Regions from separate parts of the Homo sapiens genome. Here region 1 is linked to region 2. Evidence: promoter capture Hi-C in 16 types of primary human blood cells and fetal thymus (Javierre and others, 2016). All regions are on one chromosome and are shown on one strand. The core of a region is centred on a gene start or on the middle of the fragment in contact, and the rest is flanking DNA. Distances in the headings are between cores, read along the strand shown.

Region 1 (4,109 bases), core at 1,399-3,898, 79 kb before region 2:
TGTAAAATTCTAAGCTTAGTTTTTTTTAATAGAAGAGTTTGATCACTATTAGCTATAATTAGGCTAAAGTACATGTGCTTATGAAAGAGGACATAGATTGTTTTAATTATGTGAAGAGGTATAAATAATTGATACTGAGACTTCTGAAAGGTAGCTAGATTGGCAGAAGAGAGGATATTTGAGGGAGCTAGGGAGAAGACGTGACAGAAATAGAGAACATCACCACCTTGATCCCAGCTCTACCTGGACACATCTCTACTCAGCATCCATCAGTCAAGAGCAGACCAAAGATGGGGCCTGAATATGGAGTCACATCTTTCAACTAAAACACAACTTCGTCTTGATTGTTTTTTTTTAGGTCATTACCTCAAATATCAGCAATATTGCTTTTTTATTTGTTTGCTTGCTTGCTTTTCGTATAGATACCCTGGTGTATGGTTCTAATCTTGATTCACTCCCAGAATGACCATGGCATTGCTTCTGTATACTGTGATGGGCACACAATGAGGAAAAGGGAAACCTCTTTTGTTGAGAAAAAACTCAATGGAGTTTAATTCCTCAGTTTGGAATTTCATTTCTATAAGAGACCTTCCCTCCAAAAAAGTGATTCTGTTAACTTGTGAATATTAACTAAAGAGATAAGTGTTTAAGCACTTTTAGTATGGAACAAAATAGTTTCTGGTACATTTCATAATGTTCCAAAATTAGGCAAAGTAAAATATTCTTAATAAATGAAGTCAATGAGTGTGTTGAGGCTGTTTAAGGTTTTTGCAAGTATATTTTATCCACAAATAAAACAGGTGGTTTCTTGTAGTTTTAAATTTTTTTTATTTTATTTTTCTGGCTAAACTCTGTCAAGTATCTCATTTCTAATTCCTCCTGAGAAAACCCAGCAGGGCAGACAGAACACTTCCTTTCAGGACATCAGTCACCGTTAATTGCTAATGGGGCCATAAGCTAAGGAGAATAAAAGAGATGCCTGCATCAGTGCTAGCCACTGCTGTAATTAGCAAGTGATGTGCCCTTTCATCTGTGCGCAATAATTGATTTAATAAATTCTTTTTCTTTCTGAGGCTCTAATGAGCTTCCAAGCCAGGGGTACCCAAGTAAGTGTGGCAGGCTAGAAACACAATTTCCATTGCCTAGTCTTCCTCAAGTTGGGGTTTATTCAACAAATTAACTAAAAACCATGTTGTGGACTGAACCAAAACTATTTCCTTAGTAATACAGATCTCAAATTGAAATAGGTGGTCCTAAAATCAAGGTATATCCTCTGTGTTCTAAGAAATCAATCTTGAATAGAGAAGTGATAGCCAACATTTTTAGAGTGCTTACTATGTGCCAGACACTATTAAAATGCTTTACATACTAGTTTCAGTACATCTGAAATGAAGGGAAATGAGTTTAGAGAGATTAAGTAACAGATCCAAGGTCTCCCTAATTTTAAGGAAGACCTTAGACACCAGGTCTGTCTTGGCTCATAACCACTGACCTAAATTTCCTCCTTGAGCAGAATTGGGAATTTAATAAGTGACTCAGATCTGCACAAAATTCTTTCTTGCTTGGGAAAGATCCAATAGGAAAAAACAGACGCTCCATCTTGCCAAAAAAGAACTTTGCTTTAAAGTGGACATGTAAATACAGTGGAAACTGTTGTCGTTTTGAAAATTTGTTTTTATAAACTTAATGAATGATGTAAAAATTAGATGATAAGCAAGATTGCTAATTTGAGCCATTATGTTTTTGTTTTTGAGGACTTATAAAATGTTCTGGTCTGATTTTAATTGAGTTTCTTTTTGAATTTCAATTATATGTTGTTTCCAAAGAACTTTTTCATGGTTTCCAAATGAGTCCCTGACCAGACAATATCCACAGTTCTTGGCAACGTTGAAACATGAACTATGTTGTTTACTTAGAATGGACACATAAACCAACATTTCCACTGAAGAAAATGGGAGGGGATAAGAAGAATGACTTCAACTTTTTTTTTTTTTTTTTTGTGAGACGGAGTCTTGCTCTGTCGCCCAGGCTGGAGTGCGGTGGTGCGATCTTGGCTCACTGCAAGCTCTGCCTCCCGGGTTCACGCCATTCTCCTGCCTCAGCCTGCCGAGTAGCTGGGACTACAGGAGCCTGCCACCATGCCCGGCTAATTTTTTGTATTTTTAGTAGAGACGGGGTTTCACCGTGTTAGCCAGGATGGTCTCGATCTCCTGATCTTGTGATCCGCCCGTCTCGGCCTCCCGAAGTGCTGGGATTACAGGCGTGAGCCACCGCGCCCGGCCGACTTCAACTATTGAAGCATTCATATAATATTTGCAAAAGAACTTATATTCTTGGCAAGTACTTTGTCAGTAATTGAACATATACTATATGCTCATTTTACTAAGTACTCTATATATACACTTTAAAAATTTAATTCTGATAGCAATCTTATAGAGTAGTTATTATGTTTTTTCTCCCCACTGTACAGAAGAGGAAACTGAGTCTCAGTTAAGTTATCACAAAGGACATACAGCTAGTAAATGGCAGTATCATTTAGAGCAGTCTGACTCCAATGTCACTAACTCTATCCACTAAGCTGTAGTTACCCTCATAACTGTTGTAGAGAATACACTGAAAAAAAGAATATGCTTTTTGCCACCATCATTTGAATTTTAAAGGTTACTTTACCAAACCAGGTAAAATTTAGGTCTTGTTTGACTGCTGCTGCCACAGCTCCAAGGTTCCTTTCCATTTTACCTGATGCTGAAGTGCTAATTCATGCTCACAGAGGGTGTGACCAAATCATTCATTCAGGAGTCTGCGTCTTTGGACAAATATAGTGAAGTGAGGCTATGAGTTATGCTTGAATTAAATTATTTTTATTCAATATTTTTTTTCATTGGATTTTATCTTTGAACTAGTGAAAATACTAGAAATTGGGCCAGTTAGAAACTTTTAAAATAAGGGGTCGCCTAGCACCATGGCCCTGAGCCAGTCTAAAAGGAAAGAAGGACCCATAGTGTTTCATTTATTTTGTTTTCTTACAGCAATTTTTCTGGGTAACTAAGAGTGAGTGAAACTCCGACCCTGGGTTTCACTGGTGTACTCTTTCACCCGTGAAGGCGGCCCTTGTTTTGAGTTTGTGCTTGTCCTGGACCTGGTTCAGGAGGCAGCTCTATTATCTAACTGTGCCATCTTTAAAAGGGGTCGTGTAGATGAGGTTTCGGGGAGGGCGGGTGGTGGGAGGATATCACTAAAGTTCTAAATGAAGTTAAAAAAACAACCAGTCAGAAAGGAGGATAAATGTTTTGTCCTCCAAAAAAGGATATTCTTAAAAGGAGAGGACAAAAGGACAGGTCCTCACCCAAGGACACGCCCATGGAAAGTCACACAGAGCCGGGCAGTACAGACCAGCCCAACACAGGGTTTAGCAAACAATGCTTGCCCTACCCCACCCACATCCCTGGAGCTGAATTTCAAGTTCTGATTTTAGACAATACAGCTGGAATGTCTGCACTTTCACTCCACAACACATGCAGTTTCAGGCAGCTCTCTGGTAAAAAAAAAAACAAAACAAAACATTTGGACAAATATTATAAGAATGAAAATGAAAATTTGAAAAGTAAACTACATCTATGGTGAATTTGGCAATTAAATTCTTCCAGGCAGAATGAACAGAAAATAAGACATTTTGGGGTACCTCACAAGAGGTTTAGTTTCATAATGACTTGAGGAAGTAGGGTGAATTTATTGGAGGAGAAAAGGTACTATCGTGATTAAATCACAACACTAAGCCTTTTTGGTATTTAAGGGAGGCTCAGGAAACTTCCATACACAGGAAGATAATTTTACATTTGATAAATTATTTGCAAGGCTTAGAGTCCTGTCCAGTGTTCTCTATAAGACTATAAATGCTTTGGATGCCAGACATAAAGAAAGCTCTGGGAAAATGTTGCTTCATTAATGTGTCCTGTTTAGTCCTAAGATCTAAATACCTTAGAGCAATGGTTAAACCTTGGTTTAGCACTACAGGGTCAGTTCTTCCAGACTTCTGAACTATCTCCAGGATTACAGTAAATGTAGTTTACCTTGCAGTAGATGTCTTTCCAATAGGCATTAGCCTCACC
Region 2 (3,556 bases), core at 782-3,281:
TGTTCATGATACACAATTATTCTTAAAAGTGTTGTGTGACAAACTCCTAGAAAGTATTGTCTAAATGTGCCCTCTCCCTATTACTATGTCACTAAGTTTGTAGAACTGCCTGATTCACTTACCAAAACTTTATCCTGCTGTAACTTTTTTGAACAATCCCTGTAATATTCTCCACTGCTTATTTTAAAGTAGCTGAGAATATAGCGTGCTGTTTATGGGCAACTAGTCATGGGGTAGAGGGTGAGATGATACCAGTGTTAGCCTGGGCAGGCCTGGGTGTGAATTCCATCCAGACACTTACTTAATATGTAAACTTGATTAAGTCTATTTGTTTATTTTTACACATTTCTACACTATATTTCTTCACTTATAAAATGGGTAAAAAATATCTGCCTCTTTGGATTTTTACGATTGACAAAAAAATGCAAGTAAAGTGCCTTGTATTGAGCTTCCCATGTAGAGACAGATACTCAAAAAATTTAAAAATCTCTTATTTGCTGCCTTTTCACAGGGGTATGTTAGGCACATACCTTTAATAAACGTTTCCAGTGAAAGGAGAAGGGGAGGCTGAGTTTTGGATGCCCAATGATTCTTCTCAAGATAATATCTTTAGTTTCAATTCTGTAGCGCTTTTGAAAAACTGATGCTTTGTGAAATATCAAATGAAGTAGTGCTCTGTAACATCTCCCAGAATTCTTCTCTCTTTTTAGCCTGGACTTGTCCCTCCATTACTTTGAAGACCCAAAGAGGACTGTTCCTTATTTTCTTCTATGCAGGTGGAGGATTTTTTTTTCTTGTACCCTCTGCTGACATCTCACTGATTTTCTATGTTAGAACTTTGAAAGAAAAAAAAAAAAAAAACGGCTTTGAAGGTCGAACTGCCTGGTGTTTGTTTAATAGTAGAAGCCACGTGTTTTGACACATCAAAGATTAAGAAAAGAGAAGGATTTTATTTCATAAATATCAAAGGGAAAACTTTCAGTTAATTGAATGGCAACTAGTCCCCTTTGTGCTCATTTCGGTTTCTGGCGATAAAGATGCTCAAACAGTGAGATCGCAACCAGTGAAGGAGGCGCTCTGAAGGACAGGAAAGGTTGGCTCTGCATGAGAAAGCCCTTTTAGATCCAGAAGAAGAATCACGCTTCCTTTCTTTTCCTGACCACAGCCTGTCCTGTAATTAGCGGAGCAAGTCAATCTGAGCGAGGCAAATCACTGGTTTTCCATGAAATAATTATATTTCTTATGCTCTTGGACATGTACACCTCTAAGCCTAAAAGCGGAGAAAGATGTTTTGGTTTTTTTTACGTGAGCTGGGGGAGGGAGAAGAAAAGTGGCAGCGACAGTGTAGCAAATGGGTGAAAGCAGCACAATGTGGCAAGAGGAGAGAACAGGATTCCGATTCCGTGGGGGCGTGGGAACACTGAGTTCCGCGCAGGGAGTTTCCCTGTTCAGAGCACCTTGTGCGCGAGTTGATAACTCTCGGAAAGGAAACAAAATTTGGCTTTCCTAAACTTTCTGTACGTCCAGAGAATCCCATGCCTTGTCTTGGCCTCCGCAGCGCCAGGCTGGGGTGACAGCACTCCTCCTCCACCGGCCCGGGCTTCTCCTCCGGACCGCGAGCCTGTGGCGCCTCCCCGCGCGCCCAGCGCACCGGGGTGTCCCCTTGGAGGAGCCTGCGGGGGCGGGGGAGGAGGGAAGGGCGCGACTCGTGGGTCGCGCTGGTTCCTTCACTGGATGGACGTCCGACGCTGCCTCCGGGGCGGAGACAGCTCCGGCCACCATGCGCCCGTTGCGGCGATTCCACCCACAGTTCGCTGGCTCTGGGGGTGGCGGGTCTTGGCGCGCGGTGCCTGCGCGAAGGGAGGGCAGCCATCGCCCCCGCGGTCACTGGGGCCCCGCGTTCCCCGCGGGCTCGGGCAGGTGCGCGGTGTGCCGGCCAGGTCCCCTTGTCCTCCTGCCCTGCGGCTTGGGCGCCGCGCCCGCCCCGCCCCCGCCCGCGGGCCGCCCTGGGCAGGGCCTGCCGCTGCGGCTGGAGAGCAGCGCACCGGCATGGGCAGGCGGCCGGCGGCGGAGGGCGGCTGAGGGCTGCTGAGGGTACGCGCAGCGGCCTCTCGTCGCCCTGCACGTGCCTCGCCAGGCAGTGCGCCTGCTCGCAGCGAGGACCTAGCCCTCTGGTTGCAGAGACCCGGTGCCGCAGCAGCGGCGGGTGGCTGTCGCTGCCCTGCCCTGCACGGGGCAGGGCGGAGCGGGCTGAGCAGCCCGGGCGCGATGCGTTGAGCGCTCGGAGGGCCAACCGCCGGTCCCCTTGGCGGCAACCGGCGGCACCCATGGAACCACTGGGCAACTGGAGGAGCCTGCGGGCGCCACTGCCTCCGATGCTGTTGCTGCTGCTCCTGCAGGTGGCGGGGCCCGTGGGCGCCCTGGCGGAGACCTTGCTGAACGCGCCGAGGGCCATGGGCACCAGTTCCAGCCCGCCTAGCCCTGCGAGCGTGGTGGCTCCCGGAACGACGCTGTTCGAGGAGAGCCGGCTGCCTGTGTTTACGCTGGATTACCCCCACGTGCAGATCCCCTTCGAGATCACCCTTTGGATCCTGCTGGCCTCCCTGGCCAAGATTGGTGAGCGAACTGGACTTGTGGGGAATGGGAGGGGGCGATCTCGGGGGGACACCTGGAGGGTGACCGGGTCAGCCAGCTGACCTCTAGATAGTGACCGCCTCATCTTGAATCAGGGCAGGGACGACAGATGGAGCAGCTTCTTCTGGTTGAAAAGGACCCTTGGAAGAGCAGTTTCGCGTTTTGGTTCTTAAGGGAACATTGGCCTTGAAATGGCCCCAAGTGTAAGTTCTACAAACTCAGCGATTGCTGCTTACTTCTGCCGCACGGAACGCCAAGTTTGTCAGCTCTCTGCTTAAGTTGAGTGAGATCTGTTTATTGAAGTGTACCAGTCTCACCTGCAGGGAGAGAGGTGCCGACGAACCCCGGAGCTATGCATAATGTGGTTAAAACCCTGGATGCTACAGGAGAGAGGCGCCTTGGCAGTGACACAGACCCTGCTGTGCGCCTGACTAATGAGGTGCATGGAAGGGGACCAGGGACACCTGAGTGCTTGCAGCTGCAATAGGAACGCCCTTTCTCCTCCCTCTATTGGGTTGAGGCTGTCACTCTCCAGGAAGCTTTTGCTTCGGGGTGGCTGAGGCCAGTGAGGTGAGATGCATATTTAAAAATAATTAACTCTGGGCCCAGGACAATGGCCCAGCCTGTAATCCCAGCACACTGGGAGGCCCAGACGTGAGGATCCCTTGAGGCCAGGAGTTCAAGATCATCATGGGCAACATAGCAAGACCAAACAGTACAAAAATAAAAAATTGGCCGGGCGAGGTGATTCACGCCTGTAATCCCAGCACTTTGGGAGGCTGAGGCAAGGTGGATCACGAGGATCACTGATCAACATGGTGAAACCTCGTCTCTACTAAAAATACAAAAAAATTAGCCGGGCGTGGTGGTGGGCGCCTGTAATCCCAGCTACTCGGGAGGCTGAGGGAGGGAATTGCTTGAA

The links. Contacts are between HindIII fragments. The CHiCAGO score rates a contact against its expected background, and 5 or more counts as called.
Region 1: a fragment that was not itself captured here is called in contact with the fragment with the promoter of SLC9A2 in region 2 in 1 of 17 cell types (M2 macrophages); the score reaches 6.0 in M2 macrophages.

What each region holds. Positions count from the first base shown.
Region 1 is chr2:102,537,678-102,541,786 of GRCh38, forward strand. No RefSeq gene overlaps it. Among named protein-coding and RNA genes, the nearest start is that of SLC9A4, 67 kb to the left of the region's middle. The HindIII fragment of the contact is 5,272 bases long and covers 13-4,109 here.
Region 2 is chr2:102,617,522-102,621,077 of GRCh38, forward strand. SLC9A2 (solute carrier family 9 member A2) reads left to right here and starts at 2,032. Exons shown (of 12, transcript NM_003048.6): 1 at 2,032-2,616. The coding sequence starts at 2,328. RefSeq lists a silencer at 1,640-1,749. The HindIII fragment of the contact is 5,203 bases long and covers 1-3,171 here.